2 separate regions of the Homo sapiens genome follow, and region 2 is linked to region 1. Evidence: promoter capture Hi-C in human tissues and cell types (Jung and others, 2019). All regions are on one chromosome and are shown on one strand. Each heading gives the region's core, a stretch centred on a gene start or on the middle of the fragment in contact. The rest is flanking DNA. Distances are from core to core; before and after follow the strand shown.

Region 1 (6,219 bases), core at 1,164-3,663:
CTAATATTACCAATTTTAATATAAAGATTTAGTAGAGTTGGCCGGGCGCGGTGGCTCATGCCTGTAATCCCAGCACTTTGGGAGGCCGAGGTGGGCGGATCACCTGAGTTCGGGAGTTCAAGACCAGCCTGACCAACATGGAGAAACCCAGTCTCTACTAAAAATACAAAATTAGCCAGCGTCGTGACACATGCCTGTAATCCCAGCTACTCGGGAGACTGAGGCAGGAGAATCGCTTGAACCTGGGAGGTGGAGATTGTGGTGAGCCGAGATCATGCCATTGCACTCCAGCCTGGGCAACAAGAGCGAAACTCTGTCTCAAAAAAAAAAAAAAATTTAGTAGAGTTTTAAAGGATACTTTCAATTCATTCAGGTTTTCCTCCATTCAGTGTTTACTGAAGGCTCAGTAGGTACAAAATTTAAGTTAGCTGTCAGATGAAGAGAAAAGAATCATAGTAGGACCTGAAAAGATTGTGTCTAGCAGATGGAAAGACTTGTATGTATAAGGTAGCAGGAATGCCCAGTGATCTGCTCAAAAGCCTGGAACTGGCTCTGTTAGCAATAGAGAGCCAATGAAGGTTTTTAAGCGAGGAGAGGGATCATGAGTGCCAGGGTGTGATCATAATGTCAAAGCAATTTAAAGGAGGTGACAGGGAGATGAGCTAAAAGGGCTGTTGTAATATTGGAGCTAAGACTGCATTATAGGATCCAGAGGTGGTTGAGGTCATGGGGATAAAAAGGAGACAGCAAGTAAAGTCCTATGGAAGTGGAAATGGGAAGGTTGAGCAGTTGTGCAGGGGGGAGGGAGGAAGATATAAATTCCTTTTAAGGAAGACTTTTGTAAATTATAAGAAAGAGGGTTCAAAAATAAATTTCAGATACTTCTAGAGTATGTAAGGAGGAAGAAATTATTTTTCATGACTGTTTTAAATAATGATAAGGTATAAGCAATAAGTTTATGTAATGATGGAATTGGAAACTTGTTCAAGAGGAATTCTAGAGAGTTGAATGAATCATAAAAATCTAAAAAAACCTTCAGACTACTGGGTATGTCAGAGTAGAAGCCAGGCGTGGTGGCTCATGCCTGTAATCTCAATACTTTGGGAGCTTGAGCCAAGAGGATTGCTTGAGCCCAGGAGTTCAAGACCAGCCTGGGCAACACAGTGAGACCCTCCCTCTCCACAAAGCATAAAAAAATTAGCTGGGCGTGGTAGTGCATGCCTGTGGTCTTAGCTATTGGGGAGGCTGAGGCTGGAGGATTTCTTGAGCCTGGGAGGTTGAGGCTGCAGTGAGTTACAATCACCACTGTACTCCAGCCTGGGTGACAGAGTGAGACCCTGATTCAAAAACAAACCAAAAAAGTGATTTTTTTTTTTGGAGGGGAGATGGGGAGAAAGAACAGAGCTGTCTTTTGTGTTTATGATAATTTTGATCTTGTTTCTTAATCTGCAAAACAAAGAAGAGCATACTGGTGAAAAATAAAAGGAATGTAGCCTAGAATTCTGTTCAAATCCAGCTTCTGGCACTAGCAACTGTGTTATCTTAGTGAAGTTACTTAACTCGTCCCTCAGCCTTACTTTCCTTGTGTTATGTATAACACAGATGATAGTGATACCTATCTTGTACGGTGTGTGTGTGTGTGTGAGAGAGAGAGAATTGAATGGAATGAGATAATACATGTGAAACCCCCGTCCATGAGAGCTTGGCATATAGTAGGTGCTCAACAAATGGCAGGGACTTCTCTTGTTCTCAGCAATAACACTTAACAGAGCATTGGTAGGTCTATCCCTTTTTGGTGCTGAAAAATATTTTGCTAAAACAAGACGTATATTTGAGATTGGCTTTATGTGAAAGACGACGACATTCCAGGACACACAATTTTTATGAGGGCATTTTTAACCGGACACAAGGATCAAGCCTTTCTCGTCGTCTGGATTGCAGAGTTTTGCCGCGGGTTCGTTGTTTTTTACTATGGCTAATTTTAACGCTGAACATGAAGGGGTTAAGAAATGCCTTTACTCATGTTACATTAAGTAGCAGAAATTATAAGATAGAGGAATTGGGGAGGGAAAAAAAAAAGCCTTGGCAGCAACTCATGGTTTCCTAAGTAAGACGGCTTGTAGTTACAGTGATGAGTTGAATATACGTTCTGGCAGTTTAATCTGATCAGACTAACTTGGGGGTGGGTGCAACCCGTCGCTTCCACCCTTCGCCTCCTTTAACCAAAGCCGCCCAGAGTGCAATTGTCCAGAGTTGAAACCATGCTGTGAGTTGCAGCTTCTAATTGGAGAGGCAGGAAGCCCTTCCCTGGACAGACCCCGCCCCTCCCCGTGTGAATCGCCAGCCTGCGGGGAGGAGCTGGCCAATGCTAATGAGCGAGTTGCCAGGCGAGACAGGAACTTCTTTCCCCTTCTCTGTGTCAGGATCGCAGAAAGTATGTCCCTTCTCTCACCATGAGCTGGCTCTCCAGTTCCCAGGGAGTGGTACTAACAGCCTACCACCCCAGCGGCAAGGACCAGACCGTCGGGAACAGCCATGCAAAGGCAGGGGAGGAAGCCACCTCGAGGTAAGCCTTCGGAAGCTGAAAACAAAACAAAACCCTCTTACCTGCTCCAGGAAGAAAGTGACAGGGAAGTTGGCGTGGGGAGAAGGGAATTCCATCTGCACGTCGAGCCTGAGCTCGTGCAGCAGCAGTAGCAACGTTTGGCGTGATTTTTATGTACTTTTCATCTCACCTAGTCCAAGTCTGAAATAACCCATATGATTACTGGTGAAGACAGAGAAGAAGGAACTGGGGAGAGGGCTATATGGGCTGTCAGACTAGCTATTTAGCAGGTGCATTTGCACATGCTGAAAGATCAAATAGGTCTATCTGAAACACTTCCTTTCCTATGAAATGGAATTCTTGAATGGGCTCAAGGCACTGCCACTGGAACTGTTCGCTGGGAAAGTCTGCCAAAAAGCAGGGAGGCTGTTCACTGTACTGTACAAGCTGTTGTTGTTAGAGTGTTTTTTTTCCCCCCTCTCTTTGCTGAAAGCAAACCTCTTAGGCAAAAAGCCCAAGACACTGGCCTGTGGCAATATGTTTCACATTCTTTTGTGTATGTGGATTTTTTTTCCCCCAGGCTTTCAAAAAGGAGTTTTTGTCAGGAGATAGCACTCTGCTGCTGGAGTGAAATGTGGTTAATGTTAAATCACTTTATAGGCAGAGAGGGCAAATGTTCTATAGACCACTGAGGCGCAAAGGGTACCTTTCTCCCTATCTGTGTACTTTGTTCCATTTTCCAAGGGCTTTTTTTTTTCTTTCTCTCCTTAATGACCTTCTCACTAGCTGAACATTTTTACCTCCATCAAGATATAAATAGTAAATATTGGCCTAGAAGATTGCAAGAAGCAAATACTAACCTAATAGCCTAGAACACTAAATTAGTTATCGGTAAGCACATTTCCTCCTCAATGCTTAATGTGATAATAAAACCTTCTTTGTTCTTATGTGACTTATGCCTGTGCCTTAAGCTGAAATAATGCTGCCTTTCATTTGTTTTAAAATCTCCAAATATGAGGGAGGGAGAAAAATCAAAGGAATGGCTGTAATACTCAGTGTTAGACTCCCAGCTGACGGGAACTGTTTCTCACATAGCATCCACAGTATGTATTTCATTGAATGAATTCATTTCCAAAGATAAAAAAGATTTGGTGCTTGTGCCTTAGCTGTGTTACCATTTCATTTTCCATCATTTTAAATGACTTAATGTTAAATCATTAAATCAAGAGATCTTGAAGTGTTTTCATCCATTTTTCTGTAATGTATTAGTAATCATTAAGCAGTAAAGCAGCCTGCAACACCAACCCCATACCCAGCCATAACTTGGATTCCACATGTCAGTCAAAATTGCCAAAATTATACAAGCTCAGGACATTCTCCGACTTTAGGCTGAATGGCCTGAGGACCTGAGCTGAATCTTGGATCTTGATTGTGAGAATGGAAAGGACCTTAAGGACTGAGTCCTAACCTCTCATTTTCACGTAGGACTCAAACCCCAGGGATTAGTTAAGTTTTTGGAAGGTCTGGAGTTCTAGGCCTTTGTCTGGGGCTGCATCTCCAGTTCTGGAGACTCATTATTCTGTGTTTGCAGTGTGGGTGGCCCATACTTGAGTGGGTTGAGAGAATAAGAGAGGATCAGATCATTCTCTGCCTAGGCTGAAGCAGAACCAAGAGGCACTAAGGTGGCAGGGTGGGCAGCTGCCCACACGGCAAGTGCCCTGTGTGGGGCCACAGCTCCAGGTGAGCTCCTTTGCTGGCTGTCACGTAGCCTGCCCATACCAGACCCAACTTCCCACCACTGAATTAGTTCTAGGGATCGTTCCTGATATTGACCGGAGAAGATGGGAGCCTGGTTTGAGGGCAGGGAGGAAGGAGGGAGTAGGGCTAGTTTTCAATGGCTTTTACCCTTAAGGGCTAACGAATCAGATAAACTTGTTGTTGTTTTGGGAGATACCCTGTTTAGCCTGAAAGGATTGAGATACTGTAATTGCTATGGGGGAGGGGATGGATAGAAGGAAGGAGGATTTGAAGGTGGGATGGGGTCCTCGGTGACCACCTAAGAATGGTGATAGTGGTTTCGGGGCGGTGAACTGGACTTTGGCTTTGGCTTTGGCTGGGTTGGTCAGGTGTTGTTTTAAGCCCTGGGAAGCTGCTCCAAGGTGCAAGGTTGATGGTTGATGCCTATTTAAAGAAGTTCTCCAAAAAGTAAAAACAAAACAAAACTCTTAAAAAGGCTACATTAGGCTGGGTGTGATGGCTCACACCTGTCATCTCAGCACTTTGGGAAGCTGAGGTGGGTGGATTGCTTGAGCTCAGGAGTTAGAGACCAGCCTGGGCAAAAAAAAGACCCCCGCCCCCACAGCTCTACCAAAAATACAAAAAAAAAAAAAAAAACAAGAAACCACAAACAAACTAGAAATGGTAGTGCATGCCCGTGGTCCCAGCTACTCAGGAGGCTGAAGTGTGAGGATCACTTGAGGCTGGTGGAGCAGAGATTGCAGTGAGCTGAGATCACGCCACTGCACTCCAGCCTGGGTGAGGGAGTGAGACCCTGTCTCAAAAAATAAATAAATAAATAAAAAATAAAAGCTAAATTAGATTCTGCATTTCCTCCTACCCATTTAAAAATTATAGAAGATAGCACGGAAGTATAACTTTTCTTATCACAAGATTTTGTCTGTAAGTAATATGTTCTTTGAAATATTTAATCCAATATTTAGTTCATGAGATGAATTCATGTCTTTATAATGCCATTTATACATATGTGTATGACTTAGCGTATTTATTGAAAATTGTTTCCTTTTTTTTTTCGAGATGGAGTTTTGTTCTTGTTGCTCAGGCTGGAGCACAATGGCGCACTCTTGGCTCACCACAACCTCTGCCTCCCAGGTTCAAGCTATTCTCCTGCCTCAGCCTCTATAGTAGCTGGGACCACAGGCATGCACCACCACGCCTGGCTAATTTTGTATTTTTTTTTTTTAGTGGAGTCGGGGTTTCTCCATGTTGGTCAGGCTGGTCTCGAACTCCCGACTTCAGGTGATCTGCCCACCTTGGCCCCCCAAAGTGCTGGGATTACAGGCATGAGCCACTGCGCCCAGCCTGAAAGTGTTTGATTTTTAGCCTAGCCATACCAAGTCTTTTTTTTTTTTTTTTTTTTTTGAGACAGAGTCTTACTCTGTCACCCAGGCTGGAATGCCGTGGCACGATCTGGGCTCACTGCAACCTCCGTCTCCAGGCTCAAGTGATTCTCCTGCTTCAGCCTCCCAAGCAGCTGGGATTACAGGCGAGTGCCACCACCCCTGGCTAATTTTTGTATTTTTAGTAGAGACGGGGTTTCACCATGTTGACCAGGCTGGTCTCGAACTCCTGACCTCAGATGATCTGCCCACCTCATCCTCCCAAAGTGCCGAGATTACAGGCATGAGCCACTGCACCCGGCTCCATGTCCTTTTTTATTACCATTTGGTCTTTTGAAAAGCTGAGATAGTAGGGAATTAATATTTTTGGAAGTAATTTGTTAGCTAAATTTTCTCCATTCCATTATCCCTCTTTATCAGAAAACAGTCATTGAATGTCAGATTAAGGAATTCCTCCCACTCCTGGTTAGAGCCTCTCCCTTTATAGAATCCTGTTTTTCTTTTGTATGTTTCCTCCTCAAAACATGAGGATTTGAA
Region 2 (6,219 bases), core at 1,998-4,497, 1.1 Mb after region 1:
AAAAGACCCAGAGCCTTTAGGTTTCAAGAATAATAGAAGAAACTCTTATTTACTAAAGTAGTTTAAAATGTTTTTCAAAGGCAAATATAGTAAATCGTCTTTATTTATTGAAATCAGGTGGTAGTTCATTATATTAGTATATACATTTTTGAATGTGTGAAATGTTTTGAATGTTTGAAATGTTTTATAATAAAAATAGGTTATTTTTAAAAATTCCAAACTTAAACACAGCCAACCACCAAAATGTTAGGTATCAAGGAGATAATGATACCCTTTTCCCCTCCCTAGTTCAGAAACAATTGAGAAATAGATGCAGAAATCAGATGAAGATTATTGTGTCATCTTTATCACTTGTGAAAACAGCTTGGAAAATGTTGCCTTAGCTCTTTGGCCAAGTGGCCCCGCCAACCCTGACTCCCAAAATTGACTCTCATATCCAGACCCAGGCACAGGGGCACTTGCAGAAGTAAAGCTCTTCCACATGAGAGAGAAGGGCCTAAGTGAACCCTCTCTGCAGGGAAGCAGATCTGAAAATCGGGCACAGACTGCTAACGTGAGTGGGAAGGGGCAGGAGGGAGGTTTCTGGGGTACTGGAAATGTTCTGTTTCTTGATCTGCAGTGATTTCATGGGTTTATGAATATATAGAAATCCATCAAGCTGAATACTTAAGATTTGAGTATTTTTGTGTATTTCCCCATATGTATTAACCTGCTAGCGTTGGAATAACAAAATGTCATAGACTAGGTGGCTTCAACAACAAATTAATTTTCTTACAATTCTGGAAGCTGGAATTCCAAGATCAACATGTCAACAATTCTCACTGTGTCCTCACATGGCCTTTTCTTTATTTATACATGTCCCTGTGTCACTTCCTTTTCTTATAAGGGTACCAGTCATCTTCGATTAAGGTCCCACCCTATAGGCCTTAATTAACTTTAATTACCTTTTTAAAGGCCCTATCTCCAAATATAGTCACATAGTGAGTTAAGGCATCAACATATGAATTTTGGGACAGAGTTCAGTCCACGACACCATTTATATGGTAAACTGTACTTCAATAACAAAGTTTTTTTTAAAAAGCAAATGTTCATAAAGTGGGAACTTTAATGTAAATGAAGAGACTGAATTTACTATATGATAATGCATTAGTCCATTCTCACACTACTATAAAGCTACTACCTAAGACTGATAATTTATAAACAAAAGAGGTTTAATTGACTCACAGTTCCACATGGCTCGGGAGGCCTCAGGAAACTTACAATCATGGCAGAAGACAAGGGGAAGCAAGAACCTTCTTCACATGGCAGGAGAGAGAAGCAAGCAAGGGTAGGGAAACTGTCTTATAAAACCACCAGATCTCGTGAGAACTCACTTACTATCACAAGAACAGCATGGGGGAAACCACTCCCATGATCCAATCAACCCTCTCCCTCAACACCTGGAGATTACAATTGAAGTTGAGATCTGGGTGGGGACACAGAGCCAAACCATATCAGATGACTTTAAGACAACCCATTCTTTCCTGAGAAAACTGTGGGAGAAGAGTACAAGAGAACTGGAAGCCTATGCAAAAGAAGGAAGGCGACAGAGGGACAAGGGAGGGTCAGTGGGAAGGGGAGATCTGGAAGCAGGGAGTAGCTTTTCCTGCTTTACAAGTATGATTTAATTTGGGAGAGGCCAAAATCCCCTGTCTGGGGCCAGCTGGTGGACCCAGATGGGGCTCATCACTTCCAGCAATAGAGAGGGAGAGAGAGAGGAGAGAGGAGAGAAGTAGGAAGTGGGTGTGGGCTTGAGGGGAAAGATTGGGGGCAGGTGTGAAAGAGTAGTAGAAAAATGGTAAGAAAGAGAGAGGGAGAGAAAGAGGAGAGGAAACAAGAGGAGAGAAAACGAATAAATATGACTCTACAAGAGGTAAATATGTGGCTTAAAGTTAAAGGAAATAAACTGGATGCCAGATGCCTGGGTTCATGTCCCGCCTCAGCTACTTAAGAGCTTGGTGACCATGGTAACATCACTTAATTTTTCCATGCCTCAGTCTCTTAATCTGTCAAATGAAGTAAAGAATACTACCCACATTATATGATCATTTACAGAAACAAATGAGCTAATATATGTACAGTTAGCAAAGGTCTACTATTATTATCACTCAAGTTCCAGGTTTCCATCTAGGATTCAAGAAATAAACAAGAAATGACAACCTGCCTTTGTGAAGATTCAGCAAATGTGTACAGCCTGGGAAATAGTCTGTTCCCTTTTTCACTCCCTTGTTTGCTTTTCCAACTGGGCTTACGGTGTGTATAGTTACAGCCAACTCTGAACATAGCAACCCTAGAAAGACTGCTCAGCGTAGCTGTGCCGAGGTGACTGGGATATACACAGTAGTTGTCATGTGATTTTACTTAAGCCTGATATCTCCCAACATAGACCTAATTTTCCATCTAGGAAATGTTGATATCCTGCCGTTCCATGATAAGGCTAAGTGAGAAGTCTGCAGTCCTCAAATGTAATTTTTCTACATGAGTTATCTTGCTTGCTTTTTTCATTGAGGCAGCCAAAAAAATAAATCCAGCAAAGACCATTTTATTCCCCTCCACTTCACTGTGATGCAAGTTGATAGACCACACTAACCCCTAAGGAGGATCATTTCTGAAATGTGAGAATGCAGGTGTTTTGCTTATTTTCTACATGGGCACTTTTCTCTCTGCCAGCGCCTGTCTCCAGAGATGACAGCACTGCAAAGAAACCGGGAGCTGAAAAACCACAGGTAATGTTTACTGTGTGCATTTATTAAAAGGTGTTAACAACTAATTGCATAGCATCACCCACTTAAACACATTGCAAAGAGTATTATTGCCATGAGTCTGAAAAATGCTTCCCTGGCATAGATTTTTAATAGCTTTTAAAAAGAATATGGTCCTGTAGGAAATGCCAAATTTGTGGCTTCATCCAGTGCATTTGGGAGACAGGATGTGGTTCAGCAGTTATGGGGGTTGCCGTGAGTCATCTATGGAGACAGATGTTTCCATGGTGACCTTCCCCATTCATTCAGTGTGAGGCCTCCATATACTCGTGAGGATTAATGACATGGCATTAACACTGATAATCATAATGAAGAGAGCTGTCTGAGATTGGGGCAACCCAACCCTGACATTTTCAAGGAAATAGGATGGAGGAATTTAACCAATGTGTAGAGGAAGAAAATATTGAACTACAAGGAGAGGAAATCCATTTCTTCTTTTTTTTATAAAATAGTCTTCCTGCCAGAAAAGAGTCAGCTGCTGACAGACTTCTATAGTCTCCCCTCTGAGAATTCTCTTTATATTATGACAGAGTGGGGGTGGAAATAAATAACCCCAAAAATGTTTCACTTTACGTCAAAAGAACCAGGACTAGAGAATAAGGAAAAGGCACAGACTTAAACTCTACTCAGTTGTCTTATTTGTTTGTTTATTTAAATACCTTAAGATGTTCCTTAGGAAATCCTTTTAGGGAAACTCATTTTACTGAGAGACTTGCCTATTCTATAGCTTTATGGCACTACTTTTGTCCCTTCGGGGAAAAAAAACCATTCTTCTCACATTGTGCTGATAGCAACATGTTTTTTTAGCTCACAGAGATGTGGGGCATTGTACGAACTGATAAAGTGAAATGTTAGGAGCCTATGATCTAACTCAGATGCCAGCCCGGGTACAATCGTAGACACAAAAAGAGATTATTACACTTTCCCAGAGCAGGATGCAGATACTCACAGGCTCACAGAGGATTGTGCCTTGTGATTTAGTTAGTTGTTTGCATGGTTATCTCTTTTATTAAATTTCAAGATTCTATAGAGCAGGAACTTCATCTTATTCACCTTTGGCACAGCCAGCTACCCCTAACATACACACATAAAAATATACACAAGCACACATATAAACAAACATACCTACACACACACACCCCTAGCATTTTACTTTACACCCCACACACTGCATTACTACCTACCTCTTAAATGAGTGGATTTCATCAGCAATGTAAAACCTCGAATGAGACAATTAAGCACTTGTATATGAAGTTTTTGAAACTCATAGAGTCAAATTATAATGGTTTTTAAAACTATGTAACACTGTTTTGCTTTTTTAAATGTTTAGACAAGTGGATTTGACACAAATGCAATAAAGCCTGAGAGGCAGTAAATGAAAAAAAATCATGAAAAAAGAAATTAAGAGACTCTAGAGCCACTGGACTATTCGGGTTGATTAAATGATGTCTGCAAAATGCTGATGACTGGACCTATTGTGGCATTTGCTAATCCAGCAAATATTTACTAAGTACCTATTTTAATAGTTACTTGCTCTGTGCCAAGCATTGTCCTAAGTGCTTATGCATATTGACTTATTTAATCTCTCCTAAGAGGTAAACACTATTATGAAAATACCTGTTTTTAGGAAAGTAAACTGAAGTAGGAGTAATTTCAGTGACTTGCCTAAATTCACATAAATAATATGGAGTTGAGTTTTAAGCTGAACCACGCAGGCTGGCTCCAGATCACAAGCTCTTAACTGCTATGTGATAATGCCAACCCCTGGGCTAGAAATGGGAGATATAAAAATAGTCAAATGGTACATACATCTTCTTGGTTTTCATAAAGCTTGGAGTTTTGAAGTGGTAACATGCTTAAAACCACCAGTTGCAATCACAACTGGCAAGTGCCACAAGGGACAAGGAAGGGACTCTAGGAACAGGTTAGTGCAAGTCATTCTAACCTAAAGATTATGAGGCTAGTCATAATAGGAAAAGGTACAGACAGTAAGATAGGTGAGCACCGCTTTCCTATTGACCTTGTTTTCTATTTGTCTTTGATGAGGAGGTATGCATGACTCAGCCAGAGATATTGAAGGAAGGAATCTTTCCAAATGATTCCTCAGGTATGAACTTTGAGGGACATACCTCTGCGGAGCAGAAAGTTAGCATCTGACTAGACAGATGTGATTACCCAGTTGGAAACTCTCAGCATGGACTGTTGGGAGGGACAGTGTTTCCAAGAAGCCAAAAGTGCAGAAAGAACAGCACAGTCAACAGAAGATCCTGATAACCTTTGCTAAGGTTATAGTGCGTGTCATGGGCATGAGAAACTTTGGGGAACCAGGTACCTGCTAAGAAAGTTCCTCTAAAAGTCAGTTTAAATCTCGGTGATTAATTAAACATTTTTATGCCTCATCATAGTAGTTAAGTACTTTCTATGTACCAAACTCTATGGTAAGTCTTGGGAGAAAAAATATTATTATTATTGCTATCCTGATCAAAGTTATGACATGGGAGAGCTGGCATAGGAACCAAAGCCTAACTTATTCCAAAGCCAGTTCTTATGGCAACTGTGGCTTGTGACCAAAATTCTTGCTGGGGTTTGCAAATGAAGCAAGTTAATACCTGTTCATAAGTAGGAACTAGTGACTCATTGGATCTGAGTGGAGAGCTTGACATAGAATCATCCTACAACTCCCAGAAGTAATTTGTCACTTAATGCCACTGATGCCCCAAAGTGTGATAGTCAAATCTATGGGGACACACTAGAAACAAATGTAAGATTTTGTCCCCATTTCAAAGTCTGTATGAATTTCCAGTCTTGGTTGATTAGATTCTTTCATTCAACATTAATTATGGCAGGATATCTAGGGACAGGGCAAAGTAGTAGTCAGGAGAAGAGCTAAAACTGAGGAGAAACACATTTTAAAATGTCAGGGAAATGGATACACATAGGTATCAAGAGAATGGACATAAATATTGCAAGCTGGGAGTTGCAAAGGCCCCAGCAAACAGCTTCTGGATGATCAATAGAAATGCAAGGGGAAAAGCAAAATGTGTGCTCAAACAGGGAAGCTATGAGAAATTGTCAGGAGAGCCAAAGAAATAGAGAAAGTGGAGAGGAGACAAGGCAAGACCTATAGCCGGGTCTGACCCCTGGCCTGAGGCAACTTGCTCTCGTGCTGCCAGTTCTTGAGTTCCTTGTCCCCTTGCTGAGAACGAATGAGCCATGGCAGGGTATCATATATGCTAAGAACAGAGGGCAGTAACCAGGAGTGAAACAGTGGGTGAGGGCAGGAGATGATACAGCTGAGTTCATCGAAATGGTTAGTGGGGGTACAAAAGTGCTGTTGCAGTATTTTCTGCAAGTCCACCTCAAGAGGCCAAAATATTTTCAACAAAAATGCCATTGGTTTTTACAAATTATGACTGAA

Evidence for each region. Contacts are between HindIII fragments. The study calls those that stand out against the background at their distance.
Region 2: a contact is called between a fragment that was not itself captured here and the fragment with the promoter of ARHGAP18 in region 1, in 1 of the 25 tissues and cell types used here (hippocampus).

What each region holds. Positions count from the first base shown.
Region 1 is chr6:129,706,371-129,712,589 of GRCh38, reverse strand. ARHGAP18 (Rho GTPase activating protein 18) reads left to right here and starts at 2,413. Exons shown (of 15, transcript NM_033515.3): 1 at 2,413-2,566. The coding sequence starts at 2,454. RefSeq lists a silencer at 2,060-2,139. The HindIII fragment of the contact is 16,000 bases long and covers 1-6,219 here.
Region 2 is chr6:128,597,359-128,603,577 of GRCh38, reverse strand. No RefSeq gene overlaps it. Among named protein-coding and RNA genes, the nearest start is that of PTPRK, 80 kb to the right of the region's middle. The HindIII fragment of the contact is 8,498 bases long and covers 1-6,219 here.